Regions from separate parts of the Homo sapiens genome. Here all the other regions are linked to region 1. The links are contacts of gene promoters, found by promoter capture Hi-C in blood cells and fetal thymus (Javierre and others, 2016). All regions are on one chromosome and are shown on one strand. The core of a region is centred on a gene start or on the middle of the fragment in contact, and the rest is flanking DNA. Distances in the headings are between cores, read along the strand shown. Region 1 holds the start of OR10J5 (olfactory receptor family 10 subfamily J member 5). Region 2 has its middle 12 kb from the start of CRP. Region 3 has its middle 32 kb from the start of CRP.

What was found. Contacts are between HindIII fragments. The CHiCAGO score rates a contact against its expected background, and 5 or more counts as called.
Region 2: a contact is called between a fragment that was not itself captured here and the fragment with the promoter of OR10J5 in region 1, in 1 of 17 cell types (neutrophils). The highest score is 5.8, in neutrophils.
Region 3: a fragment that was not itself captured here is called in contact with the fragment with the promoter of OR10J5 in region 1 in 1 of 17 cell types (neutrophils); the score reaches 5.6 in neutrophils.

What each region holds. Positions count from the first base shown.
Region 1 is chr1:159,534,438-159,537,496 of GRCh38, forward strand. It overlaps OR10J5 (olfactory receptor family 10 subfamily J member 5), which reads right to left and starts at 1,570. Exons shown (of 1, transcript NM_001004469.1): 1 at 641-1,570. The coding sequence starts at 1,570. The coding sequence ends at 641. The HindIII fragment of the contact is 5,281 bases long and covers 380-3,059 here.
Region 2 is chr1:159,700,676-159,703,563 of GRCh38, forward strand. No RefSeq gene overlaps it. Among named protein-coding and RNA genes, the nearest start is that of CRP, 12 kb to the right of the region's middle. The HindIII fragment of the contact is 2,054 bases long and covers 447-2,500 here.
Region 3 is chr1:159,745,147-159,747,846 of GRCh38, forward strand. No RefSeq gene overlaps it. Among named protein-coding and RNA genes, the nearest start is that of CRP, 32 kb to the left of the region's middle. The HindIII fragment of the contact is 6,050 bases long and covers 1-2,700 here.

The sequences.
Region 1 (3,059 bases), core at 320-2,819:
CTTATCCCCTAGGGAACAGCAGAGATTTCTGCCTTGGTTGCACAGAAGGAAGGAATACACATAGAAATGAACACTATTTGAGGAGCGAATACAGCTGGATAATAAAAGAAGAGACTTTTTTTTCAAAGCTGTTCATTTTTCAATCCGCAAGAATTAAGATATAATTACAAAATGACTGTCACATGGAATATTATTTGACTCCTGAGAATGAAAGCTTTCTTTTTTATGTAAGCAGAGAGAAATAAAGGTTGGTGTCTCTGCGGCTTATTTCCCTAACACCGCTGCCACCTATGTTCCCACTGTCTCTACTCCACATCCCCTAACCAGACAAGCTCAAAGATTTGACTGTCAGAGAGTTCAGGTAAAATGGGAGCCAAAAAGCTTTCAAAACTGAAATCTTCAAGCACAGAAACAAGTAGTCTTAATCCAGCTTGGAGTGATTCTTGTATCTGGTAACAAAATTCACCAGAGCAGAAATCCTGCTTTCTGCCATGCCTAGAACACTAAACAGACAAGCATTTCTATTCTTTGACAGTATTCTCAACAAATATTATATTTGATGAATTTGTGTATTGTGGCATGTTTGTGAGTAGACACACTACACTGGGCTAATGGTCTCTTAATGAAATAATCCAATCCATTAAGAAATATTTCTGCCCACAACTCTGCATAGGGCATCCTTTACCTCCTTGTTTCTCAGACTGTAAACAACAGGGTTCAGCAAGGGAGTGATGATGGTGTACGTCACTGAGAGAACAAGGTCTTTTTCTATTGAACTTTCTGACTTCGGCTTGAGGTAGGCAATGGAGGCACAGCCACAGTGGACAATAACCACAGTGAGGTGGGAGACACAGGTGGCAAAGGTCTTCTTCCGGCCCTCAGCTGAGGCAATTTGAAGGATGGAAGAGATGACAAGGACATAGGAGATAAATATCAGGCCTATGGGCACAAAAATCACAAATGAACTTACACCATAATTTATTATCTCATTGATAGTGGTATCAATGCAAGAAAGTTTCATGACTGGGTAAATGTCACAAAAGAAGTGGTCTACCACTGTGCCACAGAACGGCAAATTGAACATGGCTGTCACATGGAGAACTGCCATAGTCAGACCAATGCCAAAGGACCCACACACCAGCTGGGCACATAGTCCCTTGCTCATGATGACAGTGTATCTCAGGGGTCTGCAGATGGCCACATAGCGGTCATACCCCATTGCAGTAAGCAGGAAGCAATTATTAGTGGCCAAGATAACAAAAAAGAACATTTGTGTAGCACAGCCTGCCAAGGAGATAGGTTGGTTATGAAAAATGAGGCTCAAAAGCATTCGTGGCACAATGACCAGTGTGTACACCGTCTCTGAACTAGCCAGCATGCTTAGGAAGAAATACATGGGAGTGTGGAGATGATGGTCAATGCAGATGATAGTCACAATGATGATGTTAGCAACCAGAGTTAAAATGTAGACAGTTAGGAAAACCACAAAGAGGGTTATCTGATGCTTTCCAAAGCTAGAAAATCCCAAGAAAATGAATTCTGACACTTCTGTGAAGTTCTTTCTCTTCATTCTGCTATATCAGTGTCTGAAAGCAACAAATGGAGTCAACAAGGAGTAAATTCTCAACAGCAATTGGACTTTAAAACAAAGAAAAATGATAATTGTACTGAGACTGAATCCAATTTCCTTCTTTTTGATCATGATGCTCATGCAGGGTCCTTGCACATGAAGAGAGAAGCCTACTTGTGCCTCTTTGGGGCTTTATACATATGAACATTGTCACTGTGGAGCAAATTACTTTCTGCGCATGGAGAGGGCTTCTGCATGCCTGCTCACCTCACAGACATTATAGTGATGTTAGGAAGGGAAAAAGACAGCAAGGAGAAAGCCATGCTCTATATTTCAACCAATAATAATATCCACTCTTTAAACCCTCTTAACAAGGAGGACTCCAGTGAAGCCCATGTCAAGAAAACCATAAAGATGAAAGTTTTGCAAAAAAAAAAAAAAAAGATATAGCAGTTTGAAATATTTGAAGACGGAAAACTTTGAGACGTGGTCACTGGATTTCATAACAGGGTCACCAAGGAGCTTTTACACAGTGTTTCAGTTGAATTATGAATATAGAAACTTGATTTTGGAGAGGTAATGTGGTCCAAATATGTTATTGTACTCTCAAAACAGAACAACTACAACACAAATTCTGCCATTATCTCTCTACTAAAATTGATCACTCAAGTCCCATCAAAGAAATCTTTTTTTTTTTTTTTTTTTGCTGATTCTAGTAGGCCTTTTGAGTGAAGTCAGGAAGAGAGAGCTGTGACAGAAAACGTTGTGTAGTTGCCACTGTCATTATAAAGGACTGGGACAACTTGAGGTGTAGAAGAGACTCCGGAGTTGAGAGAGAAATCTGCAGCTATCTGTAGCCCAACTGGCTTAACTATTTTTAAAAATATGGTGAACATACAATTTTGAGAAGCAGAGACACTAATCCCTTTTGTCAAAAAGCAAGCATGTATAAACTGTATGGAGAGCATATATCTGATCCTATGGTTCTCTTTAGTGACCATCTTATTGTTCTCCCTTTATTTTCAGAAGTATTAAAACAGGCTTTCTTTCCCACTCTCCATAATTCCCTGCAAGTTGGCTTTGGCATGTTCATGCCCATGAGATTGTTTGCTCAAATGTCACCAAAGAATTCTCCATTGCTAAGGCCACTGGACTTTGTTTTATCTCCTTTTTCTCATCTTTCTCTGTTTAAACACTTCGAACTCCTACCTCATGGAAACATTCTCTGACCTTGGTTTCCATGAAACCACACTGTTTTTCTCTCTTCCCAGCACTCATTTCGTTACCTTCCATGAATCTGCTCATTCTCCCTCTACCATAATTACGTATGCTCTTCTCTGGTACATCCTTAGCCCTTGTGTGTGCGATTTTTATGATGATTGTTCTCAAATCTCTATTTTCATCACCAATCTTTTTCCCAAGTCTCCAGCTTACCTCCCTCTTGGCTTCTCTATTAATGTTTCTTGCAATCATAATAAATTTCATATTT
Region 2 (2,888 bases), core at 224-2,723, 170 kb after region 1:
GACTGCAGTGCAGTGGCGCAAACTCGGCTCCCTGCAAACTCCACCTCCTAGATTCAAGCGATTCTCATGCCTCAGCCTCCTGAGGAGCTGGGATTACAGGTGTGCATCACCATGCCTGGCTAATTTTTTTTTATTTTTTTGGTAGAGATGGGGTTTCGCCATGTTGCCCAGGCTGGTCTCGAACTCCTGGCCTCAAGTGATCTGCCTGCTTTGGCCTCCCAAAGTGCTGGGATTACAGGCATGAGCCACCACACCCGGCCAGATCCTGCTCCTCTTACCCCCTGTAGGGCCGATGTGGTCAGATCACAGTATCTTCCTTTCCTTTTCCATTTCCTGTTCTTTTGAGGTAGAATAAGGCCTTTTAAGTGGATTTTGATCCTCCATGCGTTTCTGATGTCCTCCTAAAAATCTGAATGAGAGTTTTCTGAGTACATGCCAAATTCTGAAGCTTCTTTACCCTCTCACTGACTCTTCTGTCAGTGTCTGAATCAACCTATTTCCTGTAGCCACAACATTCTAGATATAGGCCTTTCAAATTCTCCCCTTATGCTTTAACTTTGTGATAATTTCTACGATTTTTTTTCAGTCCAAGCTGACGCATTCTCCCCATACAATCAGGTGTCCCTTCTTCATTATCTACCCATTGATGGATCCCTTCACCATACTGAGGCTCTGACCCAGAGCCTGGGTAATTGAAATCATGATCACCAGCAATAATATTAGTCATAAAGCATAGATAACATGCATTAAGCACTAGCTTGTGCAGTGAAATGGGCCCTATACTATCCCCCATTTAAAAGACGAGGAAACCTGAAGAATACAGCATTTAAGTCATTTACCTAAGGTCACCCAGCCATTATAAGATGAAACCAGGACCTGAACTCAGTTAGTCTGGCTATCTTAACCCTTGAGGGTGAGATGGAGCAGGGACCCCACTTAGAAGCCTGCCAGCCCACATCCCTCACCCATGCACGGAAATAAAGGAAAATCTTGAGCTCCTTCAAGGGAAATTCCAGGTACCTAGCTAGCCCGGAGAATAAATAAGCCACCTGATAAGCAAGAAGGTAATAGTAGCTTAAAGCAATAGCCAAGGAAATTAGAATCATAGGATGTTTGGTTCCCCTACAGAAACTAAAAATAACATCCTAATATATGTTCCTGAGTTGTTTTTCAGAAACCCGACCCCTGACCTAATGCCATTATCTGAGATCTCTGTGCCAGTGGATGGAAAATGCTATCTTCCTCAGATGACCTCAGATAGTGGGGAACTGAGGACTGAACACTGACTGCTGTTCTTTGTTCTAAATTTCTTCCTGAGAGGCCTGAAGAAGGTCATGCCCATAGGCCAGAGCTCAATATTTCTGCTGATCCCAAGTTTTTAGACAAATCTTAACCAATCACATATCAGAAAATTTTTGAATCCACCTATGATCTTTGGCCCTCCCAACTTGAGATGCCCCCCTTTATAGGCCAAACCACTGTATGGCCTCCATGTGTTGATTTATGACTTTGCCTGTAATCTCTGCCTCCCTGCCTTTAAAAACCCTTCCATGTAAGTCATCAGGATGTTTGGGTCTCAGATTCTCCTTGTTTGGCATCTTGCAATAAAGACTTCACTTTCTCTCACTGCAAATCCTGTTGTCAGCATTTGGCTTTGCTGCACCAAATGGGCAGACCCAAGTTCGGTTGAGTAACAGGGGTGGAGAGGAAAGGTAGGCTTTAAGAAACTGTAAATGAGGCATATAAATGTACAGATTATGCCTTCAAAGTCCCTCTTTGACCCCAAACATGAGTAAAGCATAGAGAGGAACAGGATCTATTTCTGACTTTCAGACCCAGGCATCAACAATACAAAGGCCAAAGATTCCATGTATCAGGACTCAGTTTGTTTTGAAATGAGCCTGCCCCAGCTCCTGCAGAACTTCACAGCTTTTAGAGTTGGAGCTCCAGGACAAGTCTGCCCTGATTCTAAAAGTAAACCCATCCCTGATGAGGAAAGACTCTTTGTGCTATCTGTGAGAGACTGCCCGCTACACTGTTATTCCTCTTACAAGTCTGAAGTCCTGCCCAGGCTCCACCCTGGCTGTTTGCAGGTGAGAATCTCTCCATAGAGGAGCTTCCCTCTCTCTTCATGGTACTCTTAGAGTTTTGAGGAAACAATATCACCTCTTTGCCTGTTTAGAATAAACTGAGAAATAAATACTTGAATAAAAATCACATCAGCCTTGTGGCTAGCAATGCTTGATTTGAAGGACCCAGCTCAGATCTCAAGTGAACATGGCCTTCCTAAAACATTTTCCCCTGAAGATCTACGCTTCAGGACAGAACTGCAATGAGAATCTCCACTTGCTTCATACCTAGTGAAGAGGGAAAAGTCCCAGAGCCCCAGAGATAGATGTCATGCGTAGGTGACCTTGGACCTCTTTGGTGGAAACCAATGGATATCAGACATGGGACATGCCACTAGTCTCAAGGAGAGAAGCCAGACAGAGGAAAGGAAAGCTTCCCAGACTATCGCCCTCTCCAAAAGAACTCAAGACCTGATCTTGTCTGATGCTGCTGGTATTGTTAACTGTGTCTTCCCCAGCATTCTGAGTCATCCTTTTAAGAGAGACGTAAAGACACAAATACGAAAAAGTGCACCTGGGAGAGTCTGTGACAATCAGAAATTGGTGGAGGTGGGGAGTGTGTTAGTCTGTTTTGCATTGCCATAAAGGAATACCTGAGGCTGGGTAATTTATAAAGACAAGGGGCTTAATTGGCTTCAGTCTTCAGGCTGTACAGGAAGCATAGTGCTGGCATCTGCTTCTAACAAGGGCCTCAGAAAGCTTACAATCATGGTGGAAGGCGAAGGGGTGTCAGTGTGTCACATGGCGAGAGCAGGGACC
Region 3 (2,700 bases), core at 38-2,537, 210 kb after region 1:
GAAACAGTCACAGCCAAGAGAGACTTAAGGAAACTTGACAACTACATGTAATGTGGTATGCTGAATGTCATTCTGGAACAGAAAAGGGATACTAAGTAAAAACTAAGGAAATCTTAATAAACTACAGACTTTAATTCATAACATTGTATCAGTTTTGATTCACTCACTGTAACAAATGTACCATACTAAAGTAAAATGTTCAGGAGAGGTGAAATTGTCAGAAGGAGGGGCTGAGGGGGTATGTGGGAAATCTCTGTACTAAGTTCTCAATTTTTGTGTAAATCTAAAACTGTTCTAAAACATAAAATCTATTATAAAAATAGTGTGAATAAAAATAAATGGAGCTTAACAATCAATATCATTATTTTATTACATTTATTGAACTGGGAAAAATTTTACCTTGAGATTCAACGATAATTTATGGGAGCATGTTAAATGATGTCATGGAGATCCAATCAGTAAAATGACCCAGTTTTCTCCATAAATTTCAAGGAAAATAAGTGACAAATGGGGAGTAAATTAAAGGTGATTTAGGAGACATATAAACCTATGAAATGTGAGGACCTTTTTTGGACCCTGATTTAGAGAAGTAAAATTCCCTGTCTCACTTTACTCAGTGTCTCACTTGTGCTTCCTGGGTTCTCAGGCCAAATAAACTGTCTGGCGGGGCACAGTGGCTCATGCCTGTAATCTCAGCACTTTCCGAGGTGGAGGCGGGCGGATCACCTGAGGTCAGGAGTTCGAGACCAGCCTGACCAATATGATGAAACCCCATCTCTACTAAAAATACAAAAATTAGCTGGGAGTGGTGGCTTGCACCTGTAATCCCAGCTACTCAGGAGGCTGAAACAGGAGAATTGCTTGAACCTGGGAGGCAGAGGTTGCAGTGAGCCAAGATCGCACCATTGCACTCCAGCCTGGGCAACAAGAGTGAAACTCCATCTCAAAATAAATAAATAAATAAATAATAAAATAAATTAAAATAAACTGTCTGTACCCAAGCCCATGTCTCAGGGCCTACTTTTGTAGAAACTCAAAGAAGGACATTCATCATTAAGAAATTGGTTAAATAAATTATGGCATAACATATAATAACTTACTATACAGTAATTTTAAATAGTGAATTAGATCTACATGTGTTGACATGGAAAGATCTCAAGACACTTTCTAAAACGATTCTTTTCTATAAATGAATTAAAATAATACATGCATATGCACTAGTATGTAAATAATCATTTTTCTAGAAGTTTACTTCGAAAATTAACAGTGATTACTTCTGAGCAGTGGAAATTCTCTACACCAAATGTATTGTGCTGGCAAGCTGGCTCACTGATTTAAAAAAAAGAAAAGGTCCTGATTTATAGCATTTACTGATTTCCATGGTGTAAGTGCTCTATACCACTATGTCTAATTTCAACCCACAGATGATTTAACAGGCTCCTAATAATTACTGAATAACAATTCATTCTTGTGAGCCCATATGGGTCACCTTCAATACACTACTGGGTGAAAATGTGCATTAATATTATAATTTCGTATGCTAGTTGAGTTTATTTGAATTATACTTTTAAATAGATTATACTTAAAAATAAAAGAAGAAAACTGTTGAACACATGCTAAGATTTCCATTTCTAGTTCTTGGTTACACATAGCCTTGGAAATAAGCCCAGGCCCATATTCCCCGGCCACAAAGGAAATCAGTTAGCAGAGATTAAGATAAAGAAAATGTGCCTTACTATTCTCTTCCTTTCTGAGCTTTCGTTAGAACCCATGTCTATGAACCAAAATAAAAGGAGAAGAAGAAAGGTCATCATGCAAGGGAGGTTCTTATGGGTATTTCCTTGTGCTCTTCAGTTTATTAAGAAGGTGAGATCATAAACAGGAAGAGAAATGAAGAGCACTGGGAGAGGTAGACAGGGACATTACAATTTATACGTGCATTTTTGTGACCCCAATCATTTTTGAAAACTATCTCAGAGCCATTTTCTTTTAAAATGGCTACTACTGCCAGATAATAAATCAGGTAATTCTTGAATTTGCCCTAACCCTCTTATAATCATCAAAAGCCTGTCTTCCTCCTGATTACAAAAAGATTCAGTAGGAAAGAGCATTTAATTAGAAATCAAGAAACCTGCATTATCATCCTCACACAGGTACTGTTTTGCTGCAAAAGCCTCAGCAAGTCACTTAACCTCTCTGAGCCTCTGTTGTCTTCTATAAAACAAGAGCTTTCAATTATAAGGTTTCTGAGGACTTCTTTGGTTTTAAAAATCCTATAATTTTCTTATTTCTACTGGTCAAACCCTCTTAATGAAGCTCATTCCTCTCAAGAACTTGCTTAGATCCCCTGAAGTGTTCCTGGATAGAAAGAGAGCAGACAGAGCCAGCGCCTCCGTGTAGACAGCACTGCTATAGTGCCAGGACCTGAGACAAATAGGAGGGGCATCCCCAGGAGGCAACATGGGGACCTTGCTCTGGACCCCAGTGCCACATCTGGGGTTTGGGAAATACTTCATCAGCACCCACCAGCCCAGGACACTAGGACTGAAGGCCCCACCACATGGATAGTGTTAATTCTTCTGTGACAACACAATGCCTCTCCTGCTAGTATCTACATTATCTCCTTTCATAAACTAGTTCTTCATGAAGTCCCCACTGAAGGAGTGCTGTTTCTAAGATCATCTTTGCCTCTGTCTCTTC